Linked DNA regions of Homo sapiens: regions 2, 3, 4, 5, 6 and 7 are each linked to region 1. Evidence: promoter capture Hi-C in 16 types of primary human blood cells and fetal thymus (Javierre and others, 2016). All regions are on one chromosome and are shown on one strand. The core of a region is centred on a gene start or on the middle of the fragment in contact, and the rest is flanking DNA. Distances in the headings are between cores, read along the strand shown. Region 1 holds the start of FAM161A (FAM161 centrosomal protein A). Region 2 overlaps USP34 (ubiquitin specific peptidase 34). Region 3 overlaps USP34 (ubiquitin specific peptidase 34). Region 4 overlaps USP34 (ubiquitin specific peptidase 34). Region 5 overlaps XPO1 (exportin 1). Region 6 overlaps XPO1 (exportin 1). Region 7 has its middle 13 kb from the start of XPO1.

What was found. Contacts are between HindIII fragments. The CHiCAGO score rates a contact against its expected background, and 5 or more counts as called.
Region 2: a fragment that was not itself captured here is called in contact with the fragment with the promoter of FAM161A in region 1 in 2 of 17 cell types (naive CD8 T cells and naive B cells); the score reaches 5.6 in naive CD8 T cells.
Region 3: a contact is called between a fragment that was not itself captured here and the fragment with the promoter of FAM161A in region 1, in 1 of 17 cell types (naive CD4 T cells). The highest score is 5.3, in naive CD4 T cells.
Region 4: a contact is called between a fragment that was not itself captured here and the fragment with the promoter of FAM161A in region 1, in 1 of 17 cell types (M1 macrophages). The highest score is 5.0, in M1 macrophages.
Region 5: a contact is called between a fragment that was not itself captured here and the fragment with the promoter of FAM161A in region 1, in 1 of 17 cell types (megakaryocytes). The highest score is 5.5, in megakaryocytes.
Region 6: a contact is called between a fragment that was not itself captured here and the fragment with the promoter of FAM161A in region 1, in 4 of 17 cell types (erythroblasts, megakaryocytes, naive B cells and 1 more). The highest score is 8.3, in erythroblasts.
Region 7: a fragment that was not itself captured here is called in contact with the fragment with the promoter of FAM161A in region 1 in 1 of 17 cell types (M1 macrophages); the score reaches 6.8 in M1 macrophages.

What each region holds. Positions count from the first base shown.
Region 1 is chr2:61,852,696-61,855,388 of GRCh38, reverse strand. FAM161A (FAM161 centrosomal protein A) reads left to right here and starts at 1,329. Exons shown (of 7, transcript NM_001201543.2): 1 at 1,329-1,530. The coding sequence starts at 1,348. RefSeq lists enhancers at 136-185, 926-1,155, 1,396-1,555, 1,716-1,845. The HindIII fragment of the contact is 5,666 bases long and covers 1-1,755 here.
Region 2 is chr2:61,377,726-61,380,418 of GRCh38, reverse strand. It overlaps USP34 (ubiquitin specific peptidase 34), which reads left to right. Exons shown (of 80, transcript NM_014709.4): 7 at 58-250; 8 at 1,995-2,056. Among named protein-coding and RNA genes, the nearest start is that of SNORA70B, 38 kb to the left of the region's middle. The HindIII fragment of the contact is 1,765 bases long and covers 432-2,196 here.
Region 3 is chr2:61,418,560-61,421,252 of GRCh38, reverse strand. USP34 (ubiquitin specific peptidase 34) reads left to right here. Exons shown (of 80, transcript NM_014709.4): 2 at 420-507. Among named protein-coding and RNA genes, the nearest start is that of SNORA70B, 2.5 kb to the right of the region's middle. The HindIII fragment of the contact is 2,916 bases long and covers 1-2,693 here.
Region 4 is chr2:61,461,426-61,464,118 of GRCh38, reverse strand. All of the region lies in intron 1 of USP34 (ubiquitin specific peptidase 34), which reads left to right. Among named protein-coding and RNA genes, the nearest start is that of USP34, 8.3 kb to the left of the region's middle. The HindIII fragment of the contact is 4,536 bases long and covers 1-2,693 here.
Region 5 is chr2:61,489,158-61,491,850 of GRCh38, reverse strand. XPO1 (exportin 1) reads left to right here. Exons shown (of 25, transcript NM_003400.4): 17 at 1,075-1,209. Among named protein-coding and RNA genes, the nearest start is that of USP34-DT, 19 kb to the right of the region's middle. The HindIII fragment of the contact is 4,286 bases long and covers 1-2,693 here.
Region 6 is chr2:61,522,443-61,525,135 of GRCh38, reverse strand. It overlaps XPO1 (exportin 1), which reads left to right. Exons shown (of 25, transcript NM_003400.4): 4 at 2,453-2,525. Among named protein-coding and RNA genes, the nearest start is that of XPO1, 15 kb to the left of the region's middle. The HindIII fragment of the contact is 1,322 bases long and covers 698-2,019 here.
Region 7 is chr2:61,549,880-61,552,572 of GRCh38, reverse strand. No RefSeq gene overlaps it. Among named protein-coding and RNA genes, the nearest start is that of XPO1, 13 kb to the right of the region's middle. The HindIII fragment of the contact is 828 bases long and covers 967-1,794 here.

The DNA.
Region 1 (2,693 bases), core at 80-2,579:
CCTGTAATCCCAGCTACTCCGGAGGCTGAGGCAGTTTTGTAGCCACAAAACTGGCTGCCGTGTCTGACTGGAAATTGCTCCCCTGGAAACTTGGCCACACCTGGCGGTGCATATCTCATGGTTCTGGCTCTGGCTTCTGCTTAGAACCCAGTCAGCATCTGTTCCAGCATGGGAAGCAACTGTTCAGCTAAAACCAAGAGCAGCCTGAAGGAAGTGGGGACGTAGGAGACTTTGTAGGTGCTCACACCCAGACAGGAGAACAAAGGTTTGGTAAGGGCTCAGACCTTAGAGACGGGTTCTCGACGATGTGCAGCGCATAACGAGGAAAATACTGACCGGAGGGGGCCGGTCGTAGGGCTGGGGAGCAGGAGGAGGGCAAAGGATAGAGAGGGGGTAGATAGGGAGTAGATAGGGGGCGGCAGCCTCGGCCTCAGTAAGCAGGGGCTCAGGGAGCAGATGTCTGAGACTGCACCACGTCCGCTATTTTGAGGTTTGGCTTCTCTTACTGCCACGTGGTGCAGAGGGAAGGCGCCATTTGATGCGTCCAAATCCCGAGTGGGAAGAGAAGATACGGATGAGGGAGATGGATGTGTCTGTGGTGACTCTTGGGCACTTGTGCCGTTCAATCCTGTCACTCTCAAGCTGAAGAACCCAAAGCAAACGCCAGGTTTACAATACCTGCACTATCACTCATTAGTGGGAGGGTCAGGCGCCACCCAACTCTGGGCTTTTATTGGTCATGTCAAGAAAAAAGCGAGAGGGACAACTGGGAGCCTCCTTCTGATTGGTGGATTCCTGCTAGCCCTCAAGTCAATCAGAGTAGAATGTACCGCCCTCCTTCCCACTCTGGCCCCCGCGGGAGACATGTTAGGTAGCGGGACGCCAACCTTGTCACTCTTCTGAGACCGCCACCCAGTAACACGCCCTGCTTTCCTCCGCCGCCGCCGTCTCCTCCATCAACTGTCTCCTTCTAACATGTTATTGCAGTTAATAAAAAAGCGTTCTTTTCTTCACAAAAGCAGTTGTTTCATTGTATAATGTGAGAAGTCTGCGTTCAGGCGGTTAGACGCAAAGGAGTGGAATAAGTGCCCTGTTCAGCCTGCCAACCTTCGGAACCAGCCAACAGACTCGGTACTGACTGCCATGATCCAGTAAGCACCCGACTCGGGTCTCTGGCAGCCTGAGTGGATTTTGCGTGACTTTTGGTCCCTGGCGGCTCCTGTAGCGTCCCCAGTTACGGCGCCCATAGCAACCGGCTCCCTAGCTAGGCGCCCCCGGGTTGCCAGGGGCCGCACCAGCTTTCCCGTCCCGGGCCAGCGCAGGCGCTCAGGCCTCGGAGGCGGGGCGATGGCCACCTCCCACCGAGTGGCGAAGCTGGTGGCCTCCAGTCTCCAGACCCCGGTAAATCCCATCACTGGAGCGCGGGTCGCCCAGTACGAACGCGAAGACCCCTTAAAGGCCCTGGCGGCAGCGGAGGCGATCTTGGAGGACGAAGAGGAGGAGAAAGTGGCTCAGCCCGCTGGGGCATCGGTAATACTGGGGCGGGACTTGGGCTGGGACCTCGCATGGGCTGGGTGCAGGCTGAGGGCTGTCCGGTTCCCCGCCCAGCTGAGGGCAGGCTGGTAAACGCGGGTCCCTGTGCACATAGTCCCTACTTGGTGGTCCTGGCCCAGCCCCTTCTCTACGCTCACGAAAATTACTCTAAATCGAGGCGTTGAAAAGTGTTTTAATTTTCACCAGTCTGTTGTAAAAGCTTCCTAGACAACATTTATGTTACTCTGCTTCTGGCAAGTGCAAAGTATAGAATTTTACTCTCTACTCTCCAGCATCTCGGGAATGGATATATAGAGATATATCTGGCTATATATAGTAATTTGAGGAAAACTGTTCTGTCAGGTGTGTTTCGTTATTACCTTAAGATCTTGGTTATAAGCGGATCTCAACATAGTGCTCTAAAGATGTGTGTTTAAAACCATCACGTGTTCACTGGCTAAATCAGACACGGATACAGATAAGCAAATCACTGAGGTTTCAGTGTTTCCTAAACAGCTCTTTAGGGTACAGCGAGACGGCCTTTTCACTGATCAGTTTTCATTGTTAAATCTGTTGTGGACACCAGTCCAGCAGGTAGAGGGCAGGGTCTGCCATCTGCTCAATTCACTTAAAAGATGGGAATCTTGGCCGGGCGCGGTGGCTCGTGCCTATAATCCCAGCACTTTGGGAGGCCGAGGTGGGCGGGTTACGAGGTCAGGAGTTCGAGACCAGCCTGACCAACATGGTGAAACCCCGTCTGTACTAAAAATACAAAATTTAGCCGGGCGTGGTGGTGCGCCCCTGTAATCCTAGTTACTCGGAAGGCTGAGGCAGGAGAATCGCTTGAACTTGGGAGGTGAGGGTTGCAGTGAGCTGAGATCTCAGACCCAGTCTCAAAAAAAAAAAAAAAAAAAAAAGATGGGAATCTTGAATTTAAACTAGCAATCTGCAGATAGAAAAAATTTCCTAATACCATGTGTCCAAAGCTTCTCAGACACCAAACTTATGATTGAGGACTAACTGAAATCACTGGATATTTTGGAATTCTGATCTCTTTAATCTACAGTAAAATTGTTAATGAGAACATCTTTAGCAACACCTTTTGTGACCAATCTTTCACCAACAGACAAACAACTTGAAGTTATCCAGAGTAAGGCAGA
Region 2 (2,693 bases), core at 65-2,564, 470 kb after region 1:
GGTCTTTAAAAATGCTTTATGAATTTTTGTGTATTTTCTATTTCTGAATCATTTCAGGTATTTATGCAAGCTCTCGGATCAGGAGTTACGACAGAGTGCAGCTCGTAACATGGCTGACTTAATGTGGAGCACAGTCAAAGAACCATTGGATACAACATTATGCTTTGATAAAGAAAGCCTAGATCTTGCATTTAAGTACTTTATGTCACCTACTTTGACTATGAGGTTGGCTGGATTGAGTCAGATAACAGTAAGCTGTATTTGTTTTATTTTTGGTCATCGTTTATTTGTTTTCTGGTCTATCATAATACTACCCACTATTTATGGAGCACTTCATACTAGGCATTGTGCTAAGTATTTTATGTGGATTACTTTATATGGTCTTCACAAATAATTTCTGTGTTTCTCTTATTTTAAATAAGTCTGAAGCTTAGATTTATATGGATTTATACTGTGGGTCCATTTGATTTCCGGGTCCAACTCTTTCATCATTTTGTTTCTGTCTTTTTAAACTATTTAGGTTTTTATGTTTATAGATGTTTTGAGAAAGAGGAATAATTGGAGGGCTTTATAAGCAGTTAATTAATTTTCCAGGCAGAAACCATAGATTATTGGGCCGTAGGCCAAATTTTACTAAATGTTTGTTTTGAATAGTCTTAAATACTGTTTTTAAATAGGACAAAGTAACATGAAAATCTGTATTCTTGGCTTCTCTTGGTGAGGGGGTTGGAAGAAGGCCTGGTATTCTTGGGTCTGTATTCTTGCATAACAACAGTCTGTTAGAACTAAGTAATTAACTTTATCCCTCAGAATGAATATGCTTTCTCCGGTTTGTTGCAGTCCCCATTTGCTTTACTCCTTTACATTTCTGGGTTTTTGTTTTGTTTTGTTTTGTTTTTTGGTTTTTCTTGGAGATGGAGTCCCATTCTGTTGTGCAATGGCATGATCTCGGCTTACTGCAACCTCCACCTCCTGGGTTCAAGCGATGCTCTTGCCTCAGCCTCCTGAGTAGCAGGGACTACAGGTGTGCGCCACAACACCCAGCTAATTTTTTGCATTTTTAGTAGAGATGGGTTTTTACCGTGTTGGCCAGGCTGGTCTGGAATTCCTGACCTCAGGTGATCCACCCGCCTCATCCTCCCAAAGTGTTGGGATTACAGGCGTGAGCCACCCCACCTGGCCACATTACTGTTTTTGTTTTGTTTTGTTTTGGTAGTGTAGTCACACTGAAAATGTGAAATAGGTGGAGTTTACTTGTGTACCGGGTTTCATAAATATAAAAGATACTTGTTGATATTGTCCCAGATAAATTAAATCTTGAGTGGATTTATCTGGGGAGTCTTTCCTGAAACTTTGTCTATAATGACATATTACTTGCTCTCTTGCGTTAAATTGTTGTGTTTTTTTACTTACTCAGCTTTATTTTCTCCAGTGCACTTAGTGTAATAAAGAATACTATTTGTGGAATGAATTTAGTGTTGTTTTTTTTTTTTTTTTTTTTTTTTCGTTTTTTTGAGATGGACTCTCACTCTGTCGCCCAGGCTGGAGTGCAGTGGCGCGATCTTGGCTCACTGCAACCTCTGCCTCCTGGGTTCAAGTGATTTTCGTGCCTCAGCCTCTGAGTAGCTCGCGTTTTAGGCGCATGCCACCATACCCAGCTAATTTTGTATTTTTAATAGAGATGGAGATTTACTGTGTTGGTAAGGCTGGTCTCAGAGCTCCTGACCTCAGGTGATCCACCTGCCTTGGCCTCCTAAAGTGCTGGGATTACAGGTGTGAGCCGCTGCGCCTGGCCATTATTTAGTATTTTAATATAACAGAAATAGTTTTAGTAATTGGGAAGCGTGTGTCTCTGATTATGTCTTAGATTTTATAATATTAATCTAGTTATTGTGATCTACATATGTCAATCAGTTTACCATGTTAGTATTTGCTGACAAATGCAAGAATAATTTTGGAAATAAAAACCCTTAATTTCTTGTCTTTAATCATAGAATCAACTCCATACCTTCAATGATGTGTGCAATAATGAATCATTAGTATCGGACACAGAAACGTAAGTAGGAGCATTAATTTATATATAAGTATACCATTTTAATGTACAGTTGTTTATATGGTAAATTCTAATTTTTAGATTTAAAATTTTTACTAGAAATTCTTTGCCCTTTGACATTGTGTACAGTTCTTCATGAAGCTTTCAGAACATTATGCTGTCTGTAACATAACTCACTCTCCCTCTTTTTTTTGAGACAGGGTCTTGCTCTGTTGCCCAGGGTGGAGTACAGTGGTGGGACCATGGCTCACTACAGCCTCAAGTTCCCAGGGTCAGGTGATCCTCCCACCTCAGCCTCCCGGATAGCTGGGACCATAGGCGCATGCCAGCATGCCTGGCTAATTTTTGTGATATTTGCAGAGGCAGAGTTTTGCCATGTTGCTCAGTCTAGTCTTGTAGACTCAAGCCATCCACTTGCCTCAGTCTCCCAAAGTGTTGGGATTACAGGCGTGAGCCACTGTGTCTGGCCACATTTCTCTCTTTTAAAAGCGTATGCGAACATATAGTACTATTTGTCACAGTATGAAAGCATACTGTTTATACTGGAGAATTTAGTCTTGAAAAATATGGTACTGATAGTTTTCAGAAAGTACACTGTCTTAGTCCAGGCTGCTGTAACAAAGTACTGTAGATTGGATGA
Region 3 (2,693 bases), core at 73-2,572, 430 kb after region 1:
AGTGCTGCTGCTTTCAGATATAGCAAGCTGACAAGTCTTTGGTCTCTCCTCCTGCCTTCTTCTTCTAGTACCCTATAGGCACTGGAGAACAAGATCTTAACAGGAAGACAGCTGGAAATGAAAAATGTAGATTGCATGGTCCCAGCCTCAGCATCACAACGGAAGGCTGGTTTTGGAGATGAGAGATAATCCCAGAATAAGTGGCAAAGTCTCACTGCCCCCCCCACCCCTTACATCTGTCAAAAATCTGTTCTTAAGTCCATATGAGTTATTAATTAAAAGTAGACTTATTTTCTTTGGAAGCAAAAGAATGATTATCTGAAATGTTTGCATTTGTAGCTCTTGGCTTTATTTTGAACTGTTGGCTTTAATACTGGTTTAGCATTATTCATAATTTTAAAATTTCTTTTTTATTTCAGTATCAGATGTAGAAGGTGGTGATGGACTGCAGCTCAGAAAGGAACATACTCTCAAAATATTTACTTATATCAATTCCTGGACACAGAGGTATGCATCTTTAGGTATTTCGAAGACTAATTTTTGTGAGTTGTGTTATAAGTTGCGATTTTTATTGTCACATTTTCTTTTTAGGGTGTTGGGTTAGATACCATTAGTTACTAAATGACAGTTTGTCAATATTTATTAAATCTTTACTCATGAGGTCGATCATGATTCTGTTTTTAAAACATGGGCATAAATATCAGTTTCTTTCTTTGACCCCTGCTTATTTAGGGATATGAGAGTCACAGAAATTCTGAAAAGTAACTATTTTGAGAGATTAAATAATTTTTATGGTATAGCTAAAGGCTTGTAACAATCTTAATCCTTAAAAAAGAAAAGTCATTGTGGTAGGGGATACTTTTAAGCCACTTAATATCTGTTCCGTTTCTATAATTATGTGTATTAGACCAATTTCTAAATAATACATATATTGAGACTATAGGAAATAAAATTTTAGGAAAACATGTTAATATAATCAAAGTTTATAAAAAGGATTCCTGTTCCTCAATGTGATTTTAACTAGTCTTTGCTAATAATTTTTTTCCCTTGAATAAACCAATGAAAATAAAAATTACTTTAACTTAAACTTAGTCCTTCTAAAAAATTTTATGGGTAAGAATGTTTGAAGCATTGTGTGCAGTAGCCAATGAACATGTTAAATGCAGTGATACATAAATGAATGTTCTGAGGTATACAGTCTAGCTGAACATAGAGTTTAGCTGAGTAGTTTAACTTCAAATAACATTTGCTCTATGGTAATATCCTTTTTTCCTCTCTCAGTAGAGTTGGCAGATATACTTGTTGCAAAAGACTTTGTAGATTTTATTTATGTAAACATTCTGTACCATCATTATTGACATTTCTTTTCTGAGTCTCACTGAATTTCAGTAAGTTTAGGAGTGGTTGCTGTTGCATTAGGGATGGACTAGATGAATATTGCATAATACTAATATGTTTATGATTGAAGATGAACTTTAATAGTCCACAATGATTTGCTGAGAAATGTTGTGTCTGAGTCATAATCTTGAGTTTTAATTATTGTAACTACAGCTAGGTGGCAACATGTTATACTAGGAAAAAAATCTACACTTCTGATTTCAGGATCTATAAGTTTGCCACTGAATAAAATGAAATCCAGAGAAACAAAATCATTCTCCTAAAATCTCATCACTAGTTATTGGTAGAGATGGGGTGGGAGTTATATGTTCCCATTCCTAATACACTTGTATTCTAGCTTATTTTTAATCCCTGTATTAAGAATTTTTAACCAAGAGTCTGTGGATGGGAATGAAATTATAAAGGAGATTTTCATATGTGCAGTTTTAGGCAGTAATTCTTAGGTCTCATCAGAATATCAAAGTGTTTGCCTCCAAACCACCGAGAGCCTGTGGTTTATCTCATGTTGCCCTAGAATGTAGTGGTTAAGAAGAGTGTGGCCTGGCCGGGTGTGGTGGCTCATGCCTCTCACTTTTGAGAGGCTGAGGTGGAGGATCACTTGAGCCTAGGAGTTCGAGACCAGCCTGGGCTACAGGGCGAGACCCCATCTCTATTTAAAAAAAAAAAGTGGCCTTGGATCTAGATAGACATGGATTCTAGTCCTGCTTCATCACCTGTGAACGAGTGATGATGACAAATGAGTTAAGTTCTGTAAACTCTCATTTCCTCATTGGTGGAAATAGAATAATAATAAAGCTACTACTGTCTTAATGAGATTGTAAGAAAACAAAGTGCTTAGCACTGTATTTGCTAAAAGGACTTAATAAACACATATTTTAATTAAAATTGTTAAAATTTGTTTTGGAAAATGAAATATAAATTAAAAGATGTAAGCTAAAGTATGAAAGCTAAGCTGGAGAACATTGAATAATTTGTAATTTTGTTCACCTGTCAGTAAGTATGAACAGTTGTTAGCTCGTAGTAATAAAAGTGGAATGTTATACTCTTAATTGTGCATACTCTTAATTGTGCTGATAGAAGGGAGAACAGGTAAAAATAGTTAGATCACAGTGCCTTGTAGTGAAAATTTGTCTATTTCCATCTTCCTCTCTTCCTCCCCTAAATTATTTTCTTGAGCTTCAGAAAATATTGTGGCCTAGATTAAGATTGTCGTTCTAATTAGCGGATAAACAGGTACTAATAAAGCATGGATAATCTGCAAAATGCATTCTTAACTTGGGGCCCGTGGACCAAGT
Region 4 (2,693 bases), core at 100-2,599, 390 kb after region 1:
TTGAACTAATGATGTCAGGTGATCCACCTGCCTCGGCCTTTCAGTGTGTTTTATTTTTAAAGCAGATTACTTTATTGAATAGTTTGTGTTGGGTACTTAAGTACTTTACATGCTTTGCATGCTGCTGATTTAATCAGTTCTTTGAGGGAGGTACTCTGTCATCCTTTTCAGATGAGGGAACTAAGGTTTAGAGAATTTATGTGACTTGCTTAGGGTCACATGTGACTGTTTGGTGGAACCACAGGACTTAATCCCAGATTAGGCTAAGAGTTTTTTTTTTTTTTGAAAAGGAATTTTGTTCCTGTTGCCCAGGCTGGTGTGCAATGGCATGATCTCGGCTCATTGCAACCTCCGCCTCCTGGGTTCAAGCGATTCTCCTGCCTCAGCCTCCTGAGTAGCTGGGATTACAGGCATGCACCACCATGCCTGGCTAATTTTTGTAATTTTAGTCGATGTGGGGTTTCACCATGTTGGCCAGGATGGTCTTGAATTCCTGACCCCAGGTAATCCGCCTCCCTTGGCCTCCCAAAGTGTTGGGTTTAGGGGTGTGAGCCATCCTGCCTGGCCTAAAAGTTCTTACTAGTTAACATTGTATAAATTTTATGATGATCTATCTGAATCACCACTGTTCAGTTGGCAAAGTGAAAATTACTGACCGTGTTTTATGTATCTTCAAAAATTCAGACAAATTTCTGTGATAATTGTAGTAGGAATTCAAAAGTGGTAATAAGTATAGCTGAATAAGAATCTTTTTCATTGAATAAAATTTCAAATTTTTTGATTTTTGATTATTTTTTAAGAGACAGTGTATCACCCATGCTGGGGTGCAGTGGCCCAATTATAGCTCACTGCAGCCTCAAGCTCCTGGGCTCAAGTGATGCTCCTGCCTCAGCCTCCCAAAGTGTTGGGGTATGCTGTACCCGGCTGAGAATCTTTCTTAATACTGTTATTCTGCAGTGAACCGTTTAATAAAACTACATGTTTCCAGAGCTTTTTAGATACTATGAGTATATAGGTACGAAATCAATTAGTAACATAACTTTTTCAGTAGACATTTAATCTAAAGTTGGAATTTTTTTCCCCCCTTTGGAGATGGAGTCTTATTCTGTCATCCAGGCTGGAGTGCAATGAAGTGATTATTGCTTACTATAACTTGACCTCCTGGGCTCAAGTGATTTTCCTGTCTCACCCTCCTGAGTAGCAGGGACTATAGGTGTGTATACCAGCACACCTGGCTGCCTTTTTTTTTTTTTTTTTGGGAAACAGTTTCCCTCTGTCTCCCAGGCTGGAGTGCATTGGTACAGTCTCGGCTCACTGCACCCTCTGCCTTGGGGGGCTCAAGCAGTTCTTGTGCCTCACCCTCCCAAGTAGCTGGGATTATAGGCATGTGCCATCATGCCGGGCTAATTTTTGTATATTTAGTAGAGATGGGGTTTCGCCATGTTGGTCAGGCTGGTCTCAAACTCCTGGCCTCAAGTGATCCGCTTGCCTCAGCCTCCCAGAGTGCTGGGATTACAGGGTGTGAGCTACTTTGTCCGGTTCTCCTGAATTGATTTTTTTTTTTTTTTTGGAGACGGAGTCTTACTCTGTGGCCCAGGCTGGAGTGCAGTGGCATGATCTTGGCTCACTTCAACCTCCTCTTCCTGGGTTCAAGCAATTCTCCTGCCTCAGCTTCCCAAGTAGCTGGGATTACAGGTGCGTACCACCATGCCCAGCTAATATTTGTGTTTTTTGTAGGAATGGGGCTTCACTGTTTTGCCCAGGCTGTTCTCAAACTCCTAGCCTCAAGTGATTCACCCACCTCGGCCTCCCAAACTGCTGGGATTACAGGCATGAGCCACCACGCCTGGCTGATTTTCTTTTTTTTTTTTTTCCCCCTGAGATGGAGTCTTGTTCTGTTGCCCCAGGCTGGAGTGCGATGGCCTGATCTTGGCTCACTGCAACCTCCGCCTCCCGGGTTCAAGCGATTTTCCTGCCTCAACCTCCTGGGTAGCTGTGATTACAGGCAACTGCCACCATGCCTGACTAATTTTTGTTACGTTTAGTAGAGATGAGGTTTCACCATGTTGGCCAGGCTGGTCTTGAACTCCTGACCTCATGATCTGCCCACCTCGGCCCCCTAAAATGCTGTGACTACAGGTGTGAGCCACCGCGTCTGGCTGAAAACATGTTTTTGTATAAGATTTCATTTTATATAAAATTTAATATATCTGTTTCCAGTTCTCCCATATTATGAATAATGCCGCAAATGTACATCTTTCTACTTAAATCTTTTATCTACATCCCTGGTTCTTTTAGATTTCTAGACGTGAGTTTACTGTGTCAAAAAATATAAACATTTTTCATTATTTTCATACTGTTTGCTTGCCAGAAAGGATATATTGATCTTTTAGTCGTAGTCGTGCCTGTGTAAGGGCACTTTCACCTGTCTTGAATATTATCCTTTAGAAAGTGTTATTTTAGCAGGGCATGGTGATGTGTGCCTGTAGTATTCCCAGCTACTCAGGAGGCTGAGGTGGGAGGATCACTTGAGCCCTGGAATTCAAGGCTAGCCTGGGCAACATAGCAAGACTTCATCTCTTAAAATAAAAGTTATTTTGGTAGAGAATGTATTAAGCAATTACTAGTAAATTTAACCATTCATATTTTTGTTATTTAATGAATTGTATGTTTTTTTTTCTGTATTTCAGATT
Region 5 (2,693 bases), core at 51-2,550, 360 kb after region 1:
ACGGCTCACTGCAGCCTTGAACTCCCAGGCTCAGGTGATCCTCCCACCTTGGCCTCGTGGGTAGCTGGGACTACAGGCATGCACTGCCATCACACTCAGCTAACCTTTTTCCCCCCCTTGGTAGAGATGGGGTTTTGCCAAGTGGCCCAGGCTGGTCTTGAACTCCTAGCTTCAAGCGATACGCTTGCCTCAGCCTCCCAAAATGATTTTATATGTGTGAGCCACCACGCCCAGCCTGGTTAAATTTTCATAGTGAGACAGATTCTTGACCAGAAGATTGTTAGGCTGTTGTCCTATGTAAAATTATTCCGAACAAACAAAATCAGGTGTTTTTTGTTTTGTTTTGTTTTGGGGTGTGTGTGTGTGTGTGTGTGTGTGTGTGTGTGTGTGTTTGTTTTTTGAGATGGAGTTTCACTCTGTCGTCCATGCTGGAGTGCAGTGGCGCAATCTCGGCTCACTGCAGCCTTGCCTCCTGGGGTCAAACGATTCTCTTCCTCAGTGGCTATGATTAACAGGTGCTTGCCACCACGCCCAGCTAATTTTTTTATTTTTAGTAGAGACGGGGTTTCTCCATGTTGGTCAGGCTCATCTCCAACTCCTGACCTCATGATCCGCCCGCCTCGGCCTCCCAAAGTGCTGGGATTACAGGCGTGAGCCACCACCATGCCTGGCCAGTTTGGGTTGTTTGTTTGTTTGTTTTTTGAGGTGGAGTCTTCCTCTGTCACCCAGGCTCGAGTGCAGTATTGCAATCTCGGCTCACTGCAACCTCTGCCTCCCAGGTTCAAGCAATTCAAACCTCCCAAGTAACTGGAATTATAGGCACCTGCCACCACGCTTGGCTAATTTCTTTGTATTTGTAGAAGAGATGGGGTTTCACCACGTTGGTCAGGCTGGTCTGCAACTCCTGACCACAAGTGATTGGCCTGCCTTGGCTTCTCAAAGTATTGGGATTACAGGAGTGATCCACTGCACCTGGGCCAAAATCAGTTTCAAGACGTTTGTGAATTGCTTGTGTGTGGTTTTCCTTATTAGGGTGTATAACATAAACGTTAAAATGTCTGCTTTTTAAAATAGGTTCATACGTTTTATGAAGCTGTGGGGTACATGATTGGTGCACAAACAGATCAAACAGTACAAGAACACTTGATAGAAAAGTACATGTTACTCCCTAATCAAGTGTGGGATAGTATAATCCAGCAGGCAACCAAAGTAAGTATTTCTACCTTTTCTTAAAAGTTTTCATGGGATTTAACAAGACGTGTTCTTTACAAATGTATTGAATTCAAGCCTTTTAACATGTATGTGTGATCCATAAGTGCTTTTATGTGTGTCTTTCTATAATTTATTATCTGGGCGAGGTGTGGTGGCTCACGCCTGTAATCCTGGCACATTGGAAGGCCGAGGCGGGCGGATCACCTGAGGCCAGAAGTTCGAGATCAGCCTGGCCAACATGGCAAAACCCCGTCTCTACTAAAAATACAAAAATTAGCTGGGCGTGGTTGCACATGCCTGTAATCCCAGCTACTGAGGAGGCTTAGGCAGGAGAATCACTTGAACCCAAGAGGCAGAGGTTGCAGTGAGCCGAGATTGAGCTACTGTTCTCTAGCCGAGACGACAGAGCAAGACTCTGTCTCAAAAAAAAAAAAATAAATGAAAAATCTGGGCCGGGCTCGGTGGCTCACGCCTGTAATCCCAGCACTTTGGGAGACCGAGACGGGTGGATCACTAGGTCAGGAGATTGAGACCATCCTGGCCAACGTGGTGAAACCCCGTCTCTACTAAAAATACAAAAATTAGCCAGGCATGGTGGTGGGCGCCTGTAATCCCAGCTACTCGGGAGGCTGAGCCAGGAGAATGGCTTGAACCCAGGAGGCGGAGCTTGCAGTGAGTCAAGAGCATGCCACTGCACTCCAGCCTGGTGACAGAGGAAGACTCTGTCTCAAAAAAAAAAAAAAATACTGTAATTTCCATTCTCATTTGATATTAAAATAGGAATAGGCTGGGTGTGGTGGCTCATGCCTGTAATCCCAGCACTTTGGGAGGCCGAGGCAGGCGGATCACCAGGTCAGGGGATCGAGACCATCATGGCTAACGCAGTGAAACCCTGTCTCTACTAAAAATACAAAAATTAGCTGAGTGTGGCGGCGGGCGCCTGTAAGTCCCAGCTACTCAGGAGGCTGAGGCAGGAGAATGGCGTGAACCTGGGAGGCAGAGCTTGCAGTGAGCCGAGATCACGCCGCTGCACTCTAGCCTGGGCAACAGAACGAGACTCCGTCCCAAAAAAAAAAAAATAGAACTATATTACTTCATTCTTAAGTAGATGTAGACAAAAAGGCGTTTGTGTTCGTTTTTACCATTTGGGATTATAAATATGGTTTAGGGTAAGGGAAGCGTAATGGCTTTTGCTTTGGTAATTATGTGGATTTTTTTTTTTTTTGAGATGGAGTTTCACTCTTGGTGCCCGGGCTGGAGTGCAATGGCGTGATCTCGGCTCACTGCAACCTCTGCCTCCCGAGCTCAAGCAGTTCTCCTGCCTCAGCCTCCCAAGTGGCTGGGATTACAAGCAAGCACCATTGTGCCTGGCTAATTTTGTATTTTTAGTAGAGACAGGGTTTCTCCATGTTGGTCAGGCTGGTCTTGAACTCCCGACCTCAGGTGATGCACCCGACTCAGCCTCCCAAAGTGCTGGGATT
Region 6 (2,693 bases), core at 109-2,608, 330 kb after region 1:
GGATCATTTCATGCATTTATTTTTTCATTTAGTCTTTGCTGTTATCTGTCCCTCATCTTCATAACTCAGCAGTGGATTTCTCAAGTTTGGAGATGTAAGGCAAAAGTATAATTCTTCAGAATGTTTGGATTGTAGTGATTTATCATTGGCTTTCAGATTTGACTGTCACTTCAGATTTTTGAGCAAAAATACTAAAAAAAAAAAGAAAAAAAATTCTTTGAAGAGACAGGACCTCTGTTGCCCAGGCTGGAGTGCAGTGGTGTGATTATAGCTCACTGTAACCTCAAACTCCTGGGCTTAAGTGACATTTCTGCCTCAACTTTCTGAGTAGCTAGGGCTACAGGTGCGTGTCACCATGCCTCGCTAACTTACCAATTTTTTTATAGAAGTGGGGTCTCCCTGTGTTGCTCAGGCTGATCTTGAACTCCTGGCCCTCCCGCCTTGGCCTCCCCAAAATGTTGGGATTACAGGCGAGGGCCACTTTGCCTGGCCCCAAATAACATTTTTTCAAAGGAATGTAAATTTTTTTTGTTTTAGTTTCATAGGCAAAGTCTTTATGTCTGGGAGAGATTGGATTTTAGGATATTATAGTAACAGATGTATTCCTTTGACCTAACCTGGGCAAAGCATTTATTGGGCTCCCTGCTTCAACCCCCTTGGCAGAAAGATGAAATATGAATTGTATCTTCATCAAGCTTATGCTACCTTTATACAGTTGTAGAAAATACAGGTTAGTAAATAGTAATTTTAGGTAACAGTATCAAATAGGAAGAAGTAAATAAAAAAGAAAGGACAGTGTCTTTCCATTAAAAATGTAAAAAAGTTTGGTTAAATAAGATGAAGTTATCTTTAAGATTTTTATTTGTAACTATATTTATGGTGGGTTTTGTTTCTTAGTGTTTTAAAGGCTTTTTAATTGATTTTTGGCAAGAGGATATATTGTAAGCAGTGCATTGCTTTGACTTACTGAGTCTTGACAATCTGATTTTGTGCCTATAAAATTAAAGAAAATGCTTAGGGTAGTATGTTTTTAAAAGCTAATTAAGAACTTCAGGCATTTGGACAACTCTCTTTTTTTTACATATTTCTCAGACCTAGACATAATAAATAGATATGTTTTTAAAAGTGAACAGGTTAGAAAGCATCACTATTTACTGCTGATTATGAAACATTTTAATAGCATCAAATTTGTAATTTTAGAATTTTGCTTTGGCCTTGTTTTTATTTTGAAAGTTTTTAAGGAATGTTCTGCAAATGTAGTACTTTAGTTGAAATGGCAAAATTTTCTTGAAGAGTGTGAAATGTTAAAATGAAAGAAAACAGCAAAAACATTCACTGTTTGAGCACAATGTAGTTTGGGACAGTCTATATTGTGCTTTGGATAAAATGAGCATTCACATGATCCCTTTGGTTGAAATACTAATGCTCCTATTTTATTGTGTAATGACTAACCATTTTAAAGATGAACTCTTATTCTCAGCCAAAACTTGCAATCTGAGGTTATATGTCTATATATGAATGAGCTTACCTTTCAGATATTATAGCTGATTCTTCCCTAATTCTCTCAGTTGAAATGTACCACAACGGTTTTGTCCCTTTTCTTCCTCCTGCCTATCCACACTAATTGGTCATAGTAATTCAGGTAGTAACTCCTGGGGCTTTATAAATTATTATAAATATTGTTGACTATTTAGAGTGAGTAATCAGCAGGAGGGACAAAATGGCTTGAAAGTGGTATCTCTGTTTTTTAATTTTTTATACTTTTAGTTATAACTTTCAGTATTTAGGAAGAAATACCTGAAAGGTAGATACAGATTGCAACATGCGTTTGTGATTATTTTGACTGTGCACAAAAGTTTATCTTTAAATTAGTAGAAATAGCAACTATAAGGGTGGGGTTAAAATATAAAATAAACCCATGGGTTGTCTTGCTGCTCCTTAAGTAACACACCAGTGATGCTTGTAAACACTTTCTATAGAAAGTATCTGTGACAATACTTTAATATTTGGCCAAAAGCTTATAACTCCTAGAGGATGGTAGGAAGCTTGATAGCATCCAAGCTGCTAAATTCTTAGGAGCCTGTTCGTGTTAAAGTACGTGAGCCTATGAGCAGTCATTTATGCTGTGAATTCATATCTGGCTGCTACTTTTCCTTCGACAGATAAGCCTATTTGGCTGCTAAAGGGCTTTTTATTTGGTTCTTCCTCCTGGTGTGAGCATGTATAAACAGCAGGACGTTATATAGAGTAGCAAACAATAAAATGAGGAAAATGCATGAAAACTCAGTATATGGGTGAATAGATACTTGTTTAATATGTGTAATTAAACTTGGTAGCATAATGTTTTTGAAACTTTAGATGTAAATGTGTGAATGTCTGTCCATTTGTGAATCCTGAGAGTTGCCAGTCCTATAAGCAATATATTCACATGCTTCTATTCTCCAATTTTCAGTACTATGGACTACAAATTTTGGAAAATGTGATAAAAACAAGGTGGAAGATTCTTCCAAGGAACCAGTGCGAAGGTAGGAAAATAAAGAATTATAAATTCAGAGTTTTGTTTTTCCTGGCATTTTTATTGTAGTTGACTGTTTGAGGGGGCATGTAATGAATCTTTAGTATATTTTGCTCTAATGGAGCTTATTGCTTTTATCATGAAGCAAACAGGTCTGTTTGTATTGGTGGGTACAGGA
Region 7 (2,693 bases), core at 131-2,630, 300 kb after region 1:
TAATCCCAGCACTTTGGGAGGCCAAGGTGGGTGGATCAATTGAGGTCAAGAGTTTGAGACCAGCCTTGCCAAGGCCGATGGATCACTTGAGGTAAGGAGTTCGAGACCAACCTGGCCAACATGGTGAGACCCTGTCTCTACTAAAAATTAAAACATTTGGCTGGGTGTGGTGGCACAAACCTGTAATCCCAGCACTTTGGGAGGCCGAGGCAAGTGGATCACCTGAGGTCAGGTGTTCGAGACCAGCCTGTCCAACATGGCAAAACCTCATTTCTAAATTACATACAAAAATTAGCCGGGTGTGGTGGCATGTGCCTGTAATCCCAGCTACTCAGGAGGCTGAGGCAGGAGAATCACTGGAACCCTGAGGGCAGAGGCTGCAGTGAGCCAAGATGGCACCACTGCACTCCAGCCTGGGAGACAGAGCAAGACTCCATCTCAAAAAAAAAAAAAAAAAATTAGCCAGGTGTGGTGGTGCACACCTGCAATCCCAGCTACTTGGGAAGCTGAGGTATGAGAATCCCTTGGACCCAGGAGGCAGAGAATGCGGTGAGCCAAGATCATGCTACTGCACTCCAGCTGGGAGACAGAGTAAGACCCTGTCTCAAAGAATAAATCAATCAATAAATACATAAATAACAACTCCCAGGTATTTAACAACAAAAAATCCAACAATACAAGTAAATGAACCCCCCAGTTGTTAAGGATAAAACTTTAAAATTTAAAGAATTAAATTTTAACAAATCTAAACATTAAATTTATGAAACGATGTGTGATTACTTTATTATAGATCCAAGTATTGAAAAAACATTGTTATTGTTTGGTCCTTTTCTGCCTATGGAAATAATCATTGTCTTCCCAGCCCCAGCACAGCACATAAAACATCGTGGGACTCAAAAAAATATTATTTAAGTGAATAATTGACTGAATTAGTATGGAGAATGCTTCCTTAAACTTCCTTAAGCTTCACATTCACAAAATTCCTAGTGAAAAAAATATGTCTGCACTTCTCTGTATACGCTTTCATCTTCAAGAAGAAAAGAATACACAGAAGTACTATCATTGAGCCAGAAAAGATCTTAGGAACCTTCTAGTAGTTTGATCATAATGGCAAAGAGCTCTAATAAGGGCAGAACTGGGAGGAGAATCCACATCTTCTGATTCCAAACATTTTTCTCTGTCCCATTTTACTACTCCAATTTTTTAAAAATGTGGCAGCATTTATACAAATATTGTTTGGTCCTGTGAAATTCACTTTTTTTGGTACAGCTCAAACCTGTCTCTCCACATGTGGAGTTATTGCAGAGTCATATGTCCCCTGTAGGAGCAGAATTTGAAATATAGATGTGGAATTCATAAATAAAGGTGTTCTTGTCCCCTGAGTAAATCTTGTGTGTTTTTCTGTATGCCAGTTATTTCCACAGTATAAGTTGTTTGCTTGAGCCTTCAACAACCAATGAAGTTACGTTATGCATAAGACCTTGGGGGTTTCATGTTTGCTGGGGCCAATAAAAGCAAATTCTCTCATGCTCTCCTACCGAGAACCTCATTATGACGTCCGGCTGGTTGCCTTTTTAGATCTGCATGTGATTCTACTTCTTTCTCTAGATTCCAGGACAGGCAGAGTTTGTCCTGGAAGCTCCATTTACTCTGTCTTCCTTACTGGCTCTCTTTTTGACCCTTTAGGGTCCTTTAGTGGTCCTCTTTTCCTCCCTTAGCTACCCTTCCCCCTAACCCCCACCCTCACCTGGCAATGTATCTTTCACTTGCAAATCTTTCAGTCCCACTAAAGCTTAAATGCCTGAAAGCACTCTTCTTACCCACACCATTCATCTATTAGAAAAACTATAAGGGAGAAAAAACACTGGCTTCATCCTCAGTTTTGCTTCCCTAAAGGAAGAGACCAGAAGATAATTCTTCTAGGAGTTGCCCCTGATGGCCTTAGGGCTGCCTACAGTCCTCTGGGTCCTCTCTGGAGAGAACTGCTTTGGAGTGTGAAAAGACCATGGCAGAAAGGAAAGGGAAGGCTTGTTCTTCCCTTCTTGGTTCCAGTTCATGGAAGGGCACTCACATCTCTCATGACGAGGATTCAGCCAGAGCATCCAGATAGCTGTGCTGAGCTCTGTAACAGGATAATAGGAAGCTGGAAGCCCCAACAGGCCACATTCTACATTTTCAATGGGGTATTAGGAACAAGTAAACTCTTTTGATGGAAAGGTGATGAAGAGCTGTTTAAACGTTCAACGACCCCTTGCTGGTCTTTCCCAGGCTTACTTATTTCAAGGACTACCTTTTGTCTCTTTGTATCTTTCTCTAGCATCAGAGCTGACCCTACTAGAAAAGACTGTACATGACTGGGTGAAGAACTCCATTGACTTGCCTCCAGTCTTTTCTAGCCATGGAGCGGAAGCATGAACTTAGAAGACAGGCCATTGTGGACCATCCTGGATTTTGAAAATGCTAGAAAGAGTCAGTGGATGGGAGCTCTCTAAACCTTTGGACTCATCTGTGTATAGCATGGGTTTCTTGGCCTCCTGGCCCACTCTATTTTCAATTGGAAATCTGAAAAGTTTGCATGTGATAGGGAGGTTTGTATCCCGGTAAGGGAGGAAGAGGCTGAAACTGTTTATACTGGTGTCATTCATAAAATCTTCTTAGTTCTTCTCCATAGCTTCCTTGAGTTGAGCCTACTG